Linked DNA regions of Homo sapiens: regions 1, 2, 3 and 4 are each linked to region 5. Evidence: promoter capture Hi-C in 16 types of primary human blood cells and fetal thymus (Javierre and others, 2016). All regions are on one chromosome and are shown on one strand. Each heading gives the region's core, a stretch centred on a gene start or on the middle of the fragment in contact. The rest is flanking DNA. Distances are from core to core; before and after follow the strand shown. Region 1 has its middle 130 kb from the start of B3GAT2. Region 2 has its middle 150 kb from the start of B3GAT2. Region 3 has its middle 94 kb from the start of LINC01626. Region 4 has its middle 110 kb from the start of B3GAT2. Region 5 holds the start of OGFRL1 (opioid growth factor receptor like 1).

Region 1 (2,700 bases), core at 156-2,655, 200 kb before region 5:
TTATGGTTGATGCTCTAACAAATCCAGACTCAGGAAGTAAATCCTACTCATCACTCAGGACTCTGATCAGCTCCACACATCAAGCCATGATATTATTTTTTGCCATTTCCCCATAAATTAAAAAATGTTACTTTGTATCGACATGTCCTTTGGTATATTTCTATTCTCTGTCTGTATGTTTAGGTGTATTTCAAAATGTCTATTTCAAAGTGAGGATGTAAAACTATTCTTTAGGTAGATGGTGAGGCTTTCTTGAATGGCTGTGGTCTGTATGCTGCTGTTTTCTCTTGAATAAAAATAGAGCAAAAAATGGGTCATCTTAGTTCAGATTTTGCTTTTGGTACATTTCTGAAGTCTCTCTGTGAAAAAAAAATCACCAATTCATAGCTGAAATGGGCCTCACAGATCATGTAATTAAATGGCCTCATTTTACATACGAAGTGGCCCATAAATGTGAAATGATTTGTTTAAGGGTGCTCAGTAATTACCGGCTGGGACAGAACTAGAGCCCAAGTGATACAGTAGAGGGTCAGGGAAGTGCTGGGTAGAGAAGGGCTGGGTCCCTGGCGAGGGCTCCACCCTCGGGCCTGTGCCCACGGACCCAAGTGAGGACAAACACTCCTGTTTCATGATCCGATTTTTCCAGTACACTAGGGCAAGAACCCTGGGATACAGAAAGCCCGCTGTCCTTGAAATAAGGCAAAGGGTCTAATTGAGCTGTTTAACACAAGCCACTTGCAGACAGCAAAGCCGAAAGAGCACACTGTAACACACACCCACTGGGGCTTCGGGAGCTGGAAACACTCAACCCTAGATGCTGCCATGGGTCGGAGCCCAAAACTGCCCCCCATGACCTGACCATCCTCATGCTTCCCCTAGGGGTTTGAGCAGTGGAGCACCAAAGAAGTGAGCCACACCACCATTGCACACCTGGTGAGGGGAATAAGGGAAAACCTCCCATTTCACAAGGTTTGCTTGCTCTGAACTCAGTGCTTTCTGGATCACACTGTGATTGACCTCGGAAGATGGCCCAAGCATCTCTTTCCAGGCCACCTCTGTTTCTACCTTAGAATATAATTTTCCCTCCCTGTGTAGCAGTGAGAAAGAGAAGAAATTCTTCAAAGCTTAATAGAAACTGATATTCCTTCTGCCAGAGACGTTTTTTAACATATATATTTTTTATGATTCTATGCTTGTTTCTGAATTTAAAATCAGCTTATTTAAATAAGGTATACTTGTTATTTTTACCTGTAGTCCTTCCATAAATTTTCTTTGCAAGCATATTTTTTTTTGATATGGACATTTCTTTCTTTCTTTTCTCTTCAAAAGATATTACTAACATTGCTTATTTTTCTTAGTCTCCTATGGCCTCATCCCAGTGCTTGGTAGCTTTATTTTTTTTAGTGCTCTTTTGTCTCCTGAATAACATTTCAGATAACAGAGTCAGATTTTCTGTTAGTTTGCCTTGGTTTTTCTTTTTAATGTTGATGCTAATGTTGATGCCAGAAGAATCTCTCTACCTACATATCACACCTGCTTTGTGACAGTAGGTGAGTTTTTCCATAGGCAGGACATCGCTCTGAGTATACTGTGCATATATGGATCACGAGGTAGGGCAGGGTGTGTCTGCTGATAAGCACTAGCTGGTAGGAAGCTAGCTGAAACTCCAATCCCACACCTTAAACCTTAAGCTTTTCCAGATGGTTAATTCAGTTGCTTTAGAAATGACCCCTCTATCTTGACTAGGAGTAAAATGCCCTACTATGCCCTTAGTGTTGGGATAGTGACGAGAGATAAAGGATGAGGATTAGGGTGGGGAATCTGAAGTGCACTGTCATTCTCATAAAGACTTTCAGTGAACTCACCCTCACCCCATTTCAGTTCCATCTCTCATCCTGTTTTGCAGCAATAGAGAACTAATATATATTCAAAAGCTTCTATGTGATCTAGAAATGAATTAAAGAGTTGTGAGTGACAGAGTGAGTAACTGAGATGGAAAAAAACTTCAGGCTAGTTCAGAGTGTAGTTACTAGGTAGGACCCTAACTACAATCTGTGAAACATGAGATTTGCAGGTGTAGGCCAAGGAATAAGTAGATTTGGGTTGTTGAAAAGTGGAAAAGTTTCCTACTGTTGAAGAGAGGAAAGTTTCAAATCATTATAAATGGAAACGTAAAGACAAGAGCATGATAAGTTATTACACTGAGGCCTGGGTTAAAAAAAAATTAGATTGAGGTCAAAAAAATATTACATGGCCATACTGAAAAGCATAGCCTTAATCTCTGGAGCTGTAAGAAACATAGGGCTCACTTAGTCAGAACCTTTTTTGCACAAAGAGAGCGATGAAACATAAAGAGGTTAGTGATGTGAACCTTTAAGTCATATCTTAATCCCACCAAGCCCATTATACTGTAAATGTAGACAGCCTGGAATCATTTTACATCTCTGCTCTGGTCTTCCTCATTACACATTTGATTCATTTCCAAGGACGAAAGTGTAAATGTGCTTTCAGGATGCTGACTGTTCAATAATTTATGTAAGGCTGTAAACACATTTCAGCACACTTAGGAAACAGATTTTTCTTTTTTTTTTTTTTTATAGCGCAGTCTCTAAACAATTTCTGGTCAATTCAAATCCCTTGTGATCAGTGGTGTTGTCATTTCCATCTTTTATAACATTCAGAAAATCTATCCTAAAATGT
Region 2 (2,700 bases), core at 105-2,604, 180 kb before region 5:
TCCTCATTGGCTTAGCAAAGCCTTCCTTGGAACCGCACTGCAGTCTCTGATTCTTTCTACTCCATCCTTCCTCCCTGCTCATTATAAGGTCTGACCTCCATTATGATCTGAAGGCTCTTCCTACCAGTATTAATTTGCCAGGGCAGCTGTAACAAATTACCACACAGTTGGTGGCTTCAAGCAACAGAAATTTATTCCCTCACAGTTTTGGAGGCCAGTTTAAATCAAGGTGTCAGCAAGGCTGTGCTTCCTCTAGAGGCTCGTGGGAGAATTTTTCCTTACTGCATCCAGCTTCTGATGGCTCAAAGAATTCCTTGGCTTGCATCACTCCAATCTCTGCCCCAAAGCTTTCTCTGTCTTTCCATTATAAGTCATTATCATTGGATTTATGGCTCATCTGGATAATGTTGGATGATGTCATCTGAAGATCCCTAACTTTGTTACTTCTGCAAAGACTCTTTTTTTTCCCCCCAGATATGGCCACATTCCCAGGTTCTGGGATATGGACTTATCTTTTTGGTGGCCATCAGTCAAGTGAACACTGGATCGCCTTCTCTGGATCTCCCCCTTTATTCTTCACATGTGGGCCCCCCAATAAATGGGTCTTATCTTAGCAGCTGCTTCTTGAAGGACTTGAACCAACCACAAATCATTGAGCTAAAAAGCTAGTCCTGCCATTAGGAACGCCACTGCCTGTGTGGTTCCTCTGAGACACAGCCTCAGCTTGTGATGCAGGTCAGAGCCCTGTGAAGAAGAGGAAGCCCTGGACTGGGTAGCGAGAATCTCACACAGAGGAGCAGTTCTGGGAAAGATCTGGCCAGGCCAGCAGGGAATCCCTGAGCCCATTAGAAGAGTGCTGAGTCTCACAGGCAGAGCCTGCTGTAGTTCACCTACTATGCTCCACCATTAGCAGGGAGCAGCAGGCTGAGGCACATGGGGCCCAGGCAGGAGTGTGGCAGCCCCTGGGGCTGTCAACTCACTGTGCTCTTTGCTGCAGCACATCTGGGAAGCTCCTTTTCATGGCCAATAACATCCACCCCTTGTACTGAACAGATGTACTTTTTCCATCCAGGTTTGGGAATAGAACCTCAATGATTCCAGTGGGCCTCTCTGAGGAGAAACTTAAAAGAGGCAGTGCTATGGTCGGAATGTTCGTATGTTGAAACCTAACCCCCAGTGTGGTATTAGGGGGTGGGCCTTTGGCAGGGCAAAGCCCTCATGACCTAATCACCTCCTAAAGGCCCCACCTCCTAATGGGGTTAGTGTCCTTATAAAAGAAGCCCGAGAGAGCTGCCTTGCCCCTTCCACCACTGAGAACACAGCTAGAAGGCGCCACCTGTGAATCAGGCAATGAATCTTCACCAGATACTGAATCTGGTGAGAGCTTGACTTTGGCCTTCTCAGCTTCCAGAACTGTGAGAAATAAATTTCTGTTGTTTATAAGTCACTCAGTTGATGTTTTGTTTGTTTGTTTGTCTGTTTGTTGTTATAGCAGCCTGAGCAGACTAAGACAGGCAGGTTACTCTATTAAGAACAAACTAAGTCCCTGCCACTGTAGTTGGTCTCAGGGCCACATGCGTTCCTCTTCCTCCCCGTCCTCCACTCTCTACTCTAAATTCCCATCACCCTCAGCTGTCCCCTCAGCAGGTTGTGGTGGTTTGCCTTTGGAAGGTGTGATTCAAACCTTCACTGCTGCAGGGTCAAAACCCTTGGTAATCCCACCCTTGCTTTGGGGCTATTGCACATGTGCATCCACAGTACAGTGGAACAGGGAGAAGAACCCTTCCATTCCTAAACCCAGGTATTCTTGCTGTGGTGAGAGTGCCATTTTGAAATTTCTAATTTAATGTGTACAGTGTATCAAGAAGGATGGCACCCTATCTTTCGGAGTGCTGTCTCTGAGCTGGCACTTCAGCGTGCCCTCACAAAGCCATTCCCAAACTCTATGAGGCTGGCTGCTTCTGCATGAACACTGTGTGATATAACAAGTGGTCAGGGGCACAATCCCCCATATCTCATGGTGAGGGAAGTGACAGAGTGTGCAGTAGCCTCCATTTATCCTCTTTCCAGATCCATTTTCTGTTCTGTGCCTTGCTCTATTTCCCAGAAGGTGAAGACTTTGGGATATCATCACCAGGTTGGATTCAGGCAATGGGGGTGAGGCGGGTGGCTGGGAGGAAGAACCACGAAATTGAAGGGAAGGTGGATAAAAAGTTTCAGATTTTTTTTTTTCTGCCAGTCTTCCCTGCTTTGGTCCAACAGAGGCTGTGCCCCTCCATGTGCTTTCATAGTTACCATTCTCACTAGACTCCAGATTCACTCTTTCCTCGGGGTGGTAATAGCTTCCCTCCACATTTCCCTTAAGCTTGCCCCGGTTAGATACTAGTCTGTGTGGATCTCAAGCCTATGAATTAGGCCCCAGATAGTGGTGCTGGATGAGGTTTTGAGGACAGGTGAAGGAAAACCATACAGGGGATAGGTTTCCAGCCCTGGGAGAGTGAATGCCAGCCCTTCCAGGATAGAAGGGGTCCCCGGTAGCAACTTGCCACCCAGTGGTCAGTTGGTCTCTGAGGAATAAACCATATTGGGGGCTCAATATTGGTCTCTCTTCCTAGCAGGTTAGACATTCAGAGGCAGCAATAGCCAGATTGGCTTTGGTAAATAGAAGTCTATGCTCTTGGGTGCACATCTTTCTATCAG
Region 3 (2,700 bases), core at 166-2,665, 230 kb after region 5:
TGAAATGTCAACCAACTCATGGGAAAGACCAACATGATGATCAAAGGAGACAAAGGAAGTGAATATTACTCTTGAAATTAAAACATGATTCTAATAGAAAAACTGGAATCAGAAAGGCTGACATCTCATATTAACCATGAATGACACTGGGCTACATATATATCTAACTTACAAGGAAACAAAACATTGTGTAATATAACTATATTAGTCAGAGTTCCCCAGGAAAACGGAACCAATAGGATGTGTATATATATATATATATATATATATATATAGAGAGAGAGAGAGAGAGAGAGAGAGAGAGAGAGAGAGATAGTGATTTATTTTAAGGAATTGGCTTAGTGTGATTGTGTAGCCTGACGAATCCAAAATCTACAGGATAAGCCAGCAGTCTAGACACCCAGGAAAAAGTTGATATTGCAGTTTGAGGCTGAAGGCAGCCTTTTGTAGAATTTCCTCTTCCTTAGGAGAGGTCAGTTTTTTTTTTCTTAAGACTTTTAATGATTGAATGAGGCTCACTCACATTATGGAGGGTAATCTGCTTTACTCAAAGCTTACTTACTGATTTAAATGTTAATCTCATGTAGAAAATGCCTTCATGGCAAAATCCAGATGTGTTTGACCAGACATCTGGGAACTGTGGCCTAGCCAAGTTGACACATAAGATTAACCATTACAAGAATATGGTAAATCAGTTCTCTCACAGATTGATGGTAAATGTACTAACTCTTCAATAATTCAAACAATTTGAATGTTTTATCAAGTTTCAACATATTTACAGTTTTTTTAAGCCAAATAGTTATGTTTCTATTCTATGGAAGTAAACCTAAGTGCATACACAAAGAGCATAAATCATAAAGGAAAAGATTAATGAGTGCAATATATTAAAATTAAAAATTTGTGTGACATTAGACATCATACACAGGTTGAAAGTAAGTAATAAGGCCGGATGTGGTGGCTCACACCTGTAATCCCAGCACTTCGGGAGGCTGAGGCTGGAGGATCACGTCAGTTCAGGAGTTCGAGGCCAGCCTGACCAATATGGTGGAACCCTGTCTCTACTAAAAATACAAAAATTAGCCAGGCGTGGTGTCATGCGCCTGTAGTCCCAGTTGCTCAGAAGGCTGAGACAGGAGAATTGCTTGAACCTGGGAGGCAGAGGTTCTAGTGAACCAAGATTGTGCCACTGCACTCCAGCCGGGGCAACAGACAGAGACGCCATCTCAAAAAAAAAAAAAAAAAAGGAAAGTAAGTAATCAAACAAGAAAGGTATGTGGGACACACAGCAGACAAAAGATTAGTAACCAGAGTACATAGAGAGCTCTTACACTCCTACAGTCAATGAGAAAAAGATTTAAAATCCAATGGAAAACGAGCAAAGGTTAAAGGGCAATTCTTGAAAGAGGACACCTGAATGACTAGCAATCATTTGAAAGAATATGCAGCCTAAATTGTAATTAGAGAAATGCAAATTAAGACAACAGTCAATTTTCAAACTATCAGAAAGACCAAAATTAAAAGTTTAACAATGCCAGCTGTTGGTAAGAATATAAATTGTCATAACTACATTGGAGAATAGTTTACCAATACCTAGGAAAACTGAAGATATGTATACCTTAAAACCTTAAAATTCTCCTCCTAGGTCTATGTAATGTAGGGAAATGTTGGCACATGAACATAGATATGCAGAAAGAATATGTATTATTTGTAGTATTATTTATAAATTCAGAAAAGAGCACATAATTTATGTATCCATCAGCAGAAAAATACATATAGCTTGATATAGTTAGCAAATAAAATATTGTATGGCAATTTAAATAAACTAGATTCATATATATCAGCATGGGTTTATCATGAAAACATGTCATGTGAAAAAAGCAAGTTACAAAATTATATATATCGTATGCTTTCCCTTATCACAACTTTAAAGACATTTAGTTGAGAAAGTCGAGTAAAAGTTTAAGAAATTATATCACTATATTATAGCATACTATGTTACACTATACTATACATGCATATGTAGTAATATTATTTTTTAAAGGAGAGCAAAACATCCACCAACATTAAAATATTGTTTATCTTTACAAAGATGGTGAGGGCAATGGGTGGCTGTGTGTGCATGTGGGCACTCATACTGTGTAAAAAGAAGGGAGTGAGGAGGTACAAAAGGGCTTTAACTGAATATGTAATGTTTTATTTTTTTAAACAGAAACAAGTTCAGCAAATATGGCAAAGTAATATGTTAAGAATGTACAACACCAAGAGTGAACCCTAAGGTAAGCTTCAGGCTCTAGGTGATAACGATGCATCATTCTAAGTTCGTGGATGTTTAAATATGTACCACTTTGGTGCCAAATGTTAATAGTAAGGGAGGCATATGCAGGGGCAGAAGGTATACGTGGACTCTCAACTTTCTGTTCAATTTTGCCGTGAACCTAAAACTGCTCTAAAAGTAGTTTACTAATTGAAAATAATGTTAGGTGATGTTTACACTTTAAAAATTATTATTTGGAGATAGACAAATATTTTAAAAATTTAATAACAATATTAGTTTTAGGTCACTTCAAAATTTTATTTCAGGTGCATGCATTACTGCTATGTTAAATATAAATATAAATAAACTTGAAAATTTACGTCTCAAAAAGCTAAGATTGATATTTCTTGAGGGGAGGTCATTTTAGATGATATACATGTACTTAT
Region 4 (2,700 bases), core at 186-2,685, 220 kb before region 5:
AATGAGACAATGTAAAATAATATTGAAGTTAGAGTAAAATGAGCAAATGAGAACAGGCAAGCTTCAGTGACTCAAACTATTAAGTGAAATATATAGTTATGAAAAAAGATCAATATAAAGCATATTAGGAGGAAGGGATGTATTTTTTTCACATCATTTTATCATTCTCTCAATTAATTTTTCATACTAACTTTGTTCCTTTCTCATCTTTTCAATCTTTACCAAACCTCTTCCCTCATTTCCTTTTTAAAATTGGGAGGTTTCTTGCCTAGATAACAATCTAAATTTGGTAAATCAAATAATTTCCTATATTAAACTTTTTATATTTTTGGGATGATAGTGAATGAATACAAACTTTGAAATGGTGTTCATGTAATTCAGGTATTGAGGAATATTTTTTTTCTAGAACCGTAAGTTGAACAGAACTGGTAACAGATGGCTCAGCCTCAGTGAAAACTATTAAATGCATCTTTAATTGATATTAAATACCTCCCTGTTCTGCAGGAAGCAGAGGAGAAAGAAGATTCACAAACACTGAGATGACTTGATTGTTTGAGCATAGCCATGGTGCATTTTTGTTTATCAAGAAAGCATATGTTATTCTCATCATTAAATGTCCACTAAATTGTGTTGAAACCTGAAAGAAGAATAGAAGCCAAAACCTTGGAGTGTGTAGAAAACACACGAGTGGAAAAACCAGCTCAGCTTGGTTTTCTGATCCTAGCTCTGCCACAGCTGGTGTGACCTTTGGTAAAACAGTAAACTAGTCTCTGGGTGCTCAGGGTTTTACATCTGTAAGTTGGTAAAATCCCTGTCTCCCTGTCTCAGGGGGGCAAATAAGAACTTGGGATGGTCAAATGCTATGAACTCTTTAGCAGATAAAATATATGTTTTCCCTTAAAATATAACCATTGTGGGTAATCAAAATTCTGAAAAGCTGTGATATGAATGGCAAATTCAGTAGCATCAGTAACACAATTAGCACAAAGAGTTCTCTTGCTACAATATAATACAGAAGGACGTAGACTTTGGGTTTTAGTCATAAAATGTTCAAAATGGCTTTATGGCCATGTATCTGAGATAAAACAAAAATTTTATTTTATTTTACAAATTTCCATATGCAACACTGAAAAACAAAAATTTTATAAATAAAATATACCAGACTTTCAGATTGTTGGTGAGTGTTAGTTTTTCTCTTTGGCTTACTTTTCAGTTATTTCCTTACTCAATATTTCCTTTTCAGTATGTCATTTTCCTAGGCTACAAGCTCTCAAGGTCTTCTTTTTCCCCTTCAGGGAAAAAGTTCCCATAGGATCTAAGGGCAATTGACAATGAGGGATTATAGATTCGATGGTTGGAAATAAACTATGATTGTTTCTTATTGCCTTGGTAAAACCAAAATCTCAGATTAAATATATTGTCACTATTATAATTATACTAAAAGGTCTAGTAGATTTTTTATACCCTCTGAGTATCCAAATAAAGCCAGAATTAAAAAAAATCAGACATAATATGTTTTCTGGGAGGAATTTGACAGCAAAGACATTTCCATCTAAGTATAATTAACATTAATTTGTGGAAAAGTAAATGGCAAAAATGATTAATTTATTTTTATTGACTGTATTTTGATTCTTTTAAAATGATTACTGAGTAAGACATAGAATTTGCTTTTATTAAAGAAGAATAAATGTAATCTGCCTTTATTATTTAAAACTGTGCCTGATAGTGCATCGGGAAATAAACAATATGTCATTGACCAGATGCTGGCAGCAAAACAGTATTTCTTCAAGTCTGCAAATATTAAACCACAGATTTGAAAATGCTCTGGAAAATTAGTTTCTCATAAAAATCGTGTAAAGGAATAAATTAGCACCTTATTTAAATGCAAACCAAAGAGTTTTAATAACACCTGCCAAGATGCAGGATTTCAAAGGGAAGTGTGACTTAGGGTTTACTATTTTGTTCTGTAGAAACCAATCTTGAGTTGCTATCTATCACAATTCAATTGGAGACATTCTTTCAATGAAATCAAGTAGAATAGGAGGTACATAGAATAGTTTATAAGAACTACTCAGAAGCAGTTAAACAATACTTTATTAGATCCTACAGGAAGATAATGAAATGTTCTCACCAAAATAAAAATGAACAATTGGGCTGTGGCCCAAGTTTGGTCCTTTGTTATCTAACCCTTTAGAATGAGGATAATGTACGCTCTGCAGAGCCCTTCAGTTTCTATATAAGTATACACAAAAAATAGGCCATCAAATCACAGAACAACAGAGGAAGTAGGGTGTAGAAAAACTTGAACACCATCATTAAGCCAAAAATGCCATATATTTACATGAATATACCAATTATTTATTAAGTGAATATTTTGTTTAGATTCTAGTTCTAAAAAGCCGAGACAAATGGGGCTTAATATAACAATAGTTAGACATGGAATTTGGGACATTTAGGTGCATTTATTTTTTCTGATGATTATTTTTACTGAAGTTTAAAAATATATATAAATACGAGCAAGACTCTTCATAAACAAAGTACACCAGGAACACAGTATCTCTTACGGAAGATAAAGCATTTGCATGCAACACTGTCATAAACTCAAGAAATACCAGAAAATCACTTTGCCATTTCTGCAACGCACTTATAAGGAACACACGTACCCTATTTATGTGAGATCTCACCTGATATAATAACTAC
Region 5 (2,700 bases), core at 201-2,700:
ACAGAGCTACAGCCTAGATGTCTTGTTGCAGTGCATGAAGAGCTTAGGTAATCCTGATTTATCCATGGAATAGGCAGCTGGTTTACCTGATTCTTCCCTTAGAAACAGTCCATCTAACATGATTTGGCTTCCTACTTCATCATGAAACATTTGAAAAGAAACTATTCATTCCAAGTTCAACAGTTTAATCTTCAAATATCTAGCTCATCTTTCTTAGTCCATATTTAACAAATGTTTACTGAGCATCCACCAAGTTGACAGCACTGTAAATACAGACACACTTTCAGACGGGGGCTGCCTGCAAAGAGGCTTCCCTTCTAGTTAGAAAGCCAGAAGACACATTTTACAACAGTCACTTTTCTCTGGGTCACATATTTGATAATACTACCTTATCTTTACGTACTTCTATAGGCTTATGCCTGTAATCCCAGCTATTGGGAGGCTGAGGCAGGAGAATTGCTTGAAACCAGGAGGCGGAGGTTGCAGTGAGCCGAGATCGCGCCTCTGCACTGCAGCCTGGGCAACAGAGGGAGACTCTGTCTCAAAAAGAAAGAAAAGAAAGAACAGAACAACAGAACAGAACAGAACAGAACAGAACAGAACAGAACAGAACAGAACAGAACAGAACAGAAAAAAGAAAGAACTTCCCTAACACAGTTCTCCCTCCTCCTTTCATTTGCAGAACAGACCACAGGGCCGAGGCTTCTTCCATTAGAAACAGCCCATCTGTTCTACTGATTCTGAGATTTTTGCCTACACGGAGCACCAATTTGTAGTGGGTGTAAGGTTACCCGCAAATCAATGTGATGGTCCAGTTGTTACTGTTCCTTTTGTTTCACGAGCGATTGCTCATTAGATGAGGTGACTGATAGCTCTGACTTTTTCTAGACCACAAGGACTCTAGGTGGCTGCCCTAAGTACAGTTGTGGCAGCTGGGATTTCCTGTTTATATGGTGCCCGGCACCATCAGCTTTTGTCCTCTGCTGCAGCTAAAGTGTCTTCCTCCTGGACCAGGGAGAGGGGGAGGGGGTGTGGACAGGACCCGCCTGCTGACGGTGACACCTCTTCGACACCACGTCCACGCCAGTCCTCAGCTCCAGGAGCTGGGCGGGATCCCTCATCCCGCTCAGCTGGGAGATGCCCCGGGAGGGCGTCCCCCGGCTCCGGGCGGCGAGGGTAGTAGCCGACCCCAATCCACTCCGGGGGCCGCCGGGGGCCGCGTGAAGGCAGGTGTTCCGGGGAGAAACGTGGAAGGGAGGCGCGGCCTGGGGCCGGTGGCGCTCGGCTGGGGGCCGCAGTTGGCTCCCCTGGGGGCTCTGGGCGGCGGCAGCTCCCGCCTGTGGGGAGGAGAAGGAGCCGGATGGGCGGGTTCAGGCGCGCGCGGCGGCGGTCCCGGGGCCGCCGGCTCCTCCCCGCGAGGGTGCCTGTCCGCCGCTCGCCGCGCTGAGGCAGTGCGGGGCGGGCGCGCCTAGGCTGCCGCCCAGCGCCCTCGCCGCGGCCATGCCCGGGCCCTAGAGCGCCTGCCGCAGCTTGCGCCCCGCAGCCCCGCAGCCCCGCGCCCGCCGCCGCCTCTTCAATGGGCAACCTGCTCGGCGGGGTCAGCTTCCGCGAGCCCACCACCGTGGAGGACTGCGACTCCACCTGGCAGACCGACTCGGAGCCCGAGCCCGAAGAACCAGGGCCGGGCGGCGGCAGCGAGGGCCCGGGGCAGGAGTCCGAGCAGCCCGCGCAGCCCCCGGAGCAAGCCGGCGGGCGGCCCGGCGCCAGCCCCGCGCCGGACGAGGACGCCGAGGCGGCGGGCGCCGAGCAGGTACGCGGCCCAGCGGTGGCCTCGGGTCGGGCTGGGGCGCCCCGACACCCCAGAGGGGCAAGTGCCAAGCCGCCCTCGCGCTCGGAGGCCAGGGGCGCCAGGTGGCTGCTCGCCGCTGCGACCCGACCCCTCCGCGCCGCGGCTGACCTGTCTCCCGGTGGAGCCCGGGGGCCTGCAGGAGCCCAAAGCGCCGGACCCTCCCACTGCCGGCCTGGGGCCTGGCCGAGGGCACGGCGAGGAAGTCCCTCAAGGCAGAACCCAACTTGAATGGGTGTTTTCTTTGCCTCTGCAGAGCAGCTGGATTATGCGAAGGTGGGGTGGGAGGAACCTGTCTAAAAATAGAGGATTTTGACAACCCCTCTAGTGTGTGTTATTGGTAAAAAAAAAAAAAAAAAAAAAAAAAAAAAAAATTACTCAGAATAAGGTGGGGCTACAAGTGCAAGCAGCCAGCGCTCTCCCCTACAGTGGGGTCTAAGCCGTCAGAAGTGTAGGCCCTCATCTGAAGTTCATACGTCACTGTTCTGCCCAACTCAGGCCTTTCAACCTAGGATTCAGGGCATTCTTCACGAATCTTATTTCACCAGAAGACTTGTTGATCCAACTGTGTTTGAACTGTTTGACTAATACAGCTTGGAGGAGAGGTTAGTCAAGAGATAAGCCCCTTAACCTCTGATGGACTGAAAATAATCAGGAACTTTAAAAAGGAGGAAATATGTAGCCGACCCCCTGAAGAAGTGTGCATCCTGGAGGTGGTTCAGGTTTGCCGCTCCACATTAGGCCCTTCTCTTTATCAGCTAGGGGCGATGGAGATTGGGAAAATGGAGCCCAAAGTCCAATGTGACCACAGGGTTTTGGGGGAATCATAACCTAAATATTACAGCTAACACCGC

Evidence for each region. The method cuts DNA at HindIII sites, captures the fragments that hold promoters and counts their contacts. A CHiCAGO score of 5 or more calls a contact.
Region 1: a contact is called between a fragment that was not itself captured here and the fragment with the promoter of OGFRL1 in region 5, in 1 of 17 cell types (neutrophils). The highest score is 6.2, in neutrophils.
Region 2: a contact is called between a fragment that was not itself captured here and the fragment with the promoter of OGFRL1 in region 5, in 1 of 17 cell types (neutrophils). The highest score is 6.2, in neutrophils.
Region 3: a contact is called between a fragment that was not itself captured here and the fragment with the promoter of OGFRL1 in region 5, in 1 of 17 cell types (endothelial precursors). The highest score is 6.3, in endothelial precursors.
Region 4: a contact is called between a fragment that was not itself captured here and the fragment with the promoter of OGFRL1 in region 5, in 1 of 17 cell types (neutrophils). The highest score is 9.6, in neutrophils.

Annotation. Positions count from the first base shown.
Region 1 is chr6:71,085,921-71,088,620 of GRCh38, forward strand. No RefSeq gene overlaps it. Among named protein-coding and RNA genes, the nearest start is that of B3GAT2, 130 kb to the left of the region's middle. The HindIII fragment of the contact is 567 bases long and covers 1,123-1,689 here.
Region 2 is chr6:71,102,954-71,105,653 of GRCh38, forward strand. No RefSeq gene overlaps it. Among named protein-coding and RNA genes, the nearest start is that of B3GAT2, 150 kb to the left of the region's middle. The HindIII fragment of the contact is 2,018 bases long and covers 346-2,363 here.
Region 3 is chr6:71,514,015-71,516,714 of GRCh38, forward strand. No RefSeq gene overlaps it. Among named protein-coding and RNA genes, the nearest start is that of LINC01626, 94 kb to the left of the region's middle. The HindIII fragment of the contact is 1,728 bases long and covers 552-2,279 here.
Region 4 is chr6:71,069,577-71,072,276 of GRCh38, forward strand. No RefSeq gene overlaps it. Among named protein-coding and RNA genes, the nearest start is that of B3GAT2, 110 kb to the left of the region's middle. The HindIII fragment of the contact is 2,753 bases long and covers 60-2,700 here.
Region 5 is chr6:71,287,361-71,290,060 of GRCh38, forward strand. OGFRL1 (opioid growth factor receptor like 1) reads left to right here and starts at 1,451. Exons shown (of 7, transcript NM_024576.5): 1 at 1,451-1,810. The coding sequence starts at 1,577. The region is part of intron 3 of LOC124901339 (a long non-coding RNA gene); the gene reads right to left. RefSeq lists a silencer at 1,104-2,163. The HindIII fragment of the contact is 6,418 bases long and covers 1-2,700 here.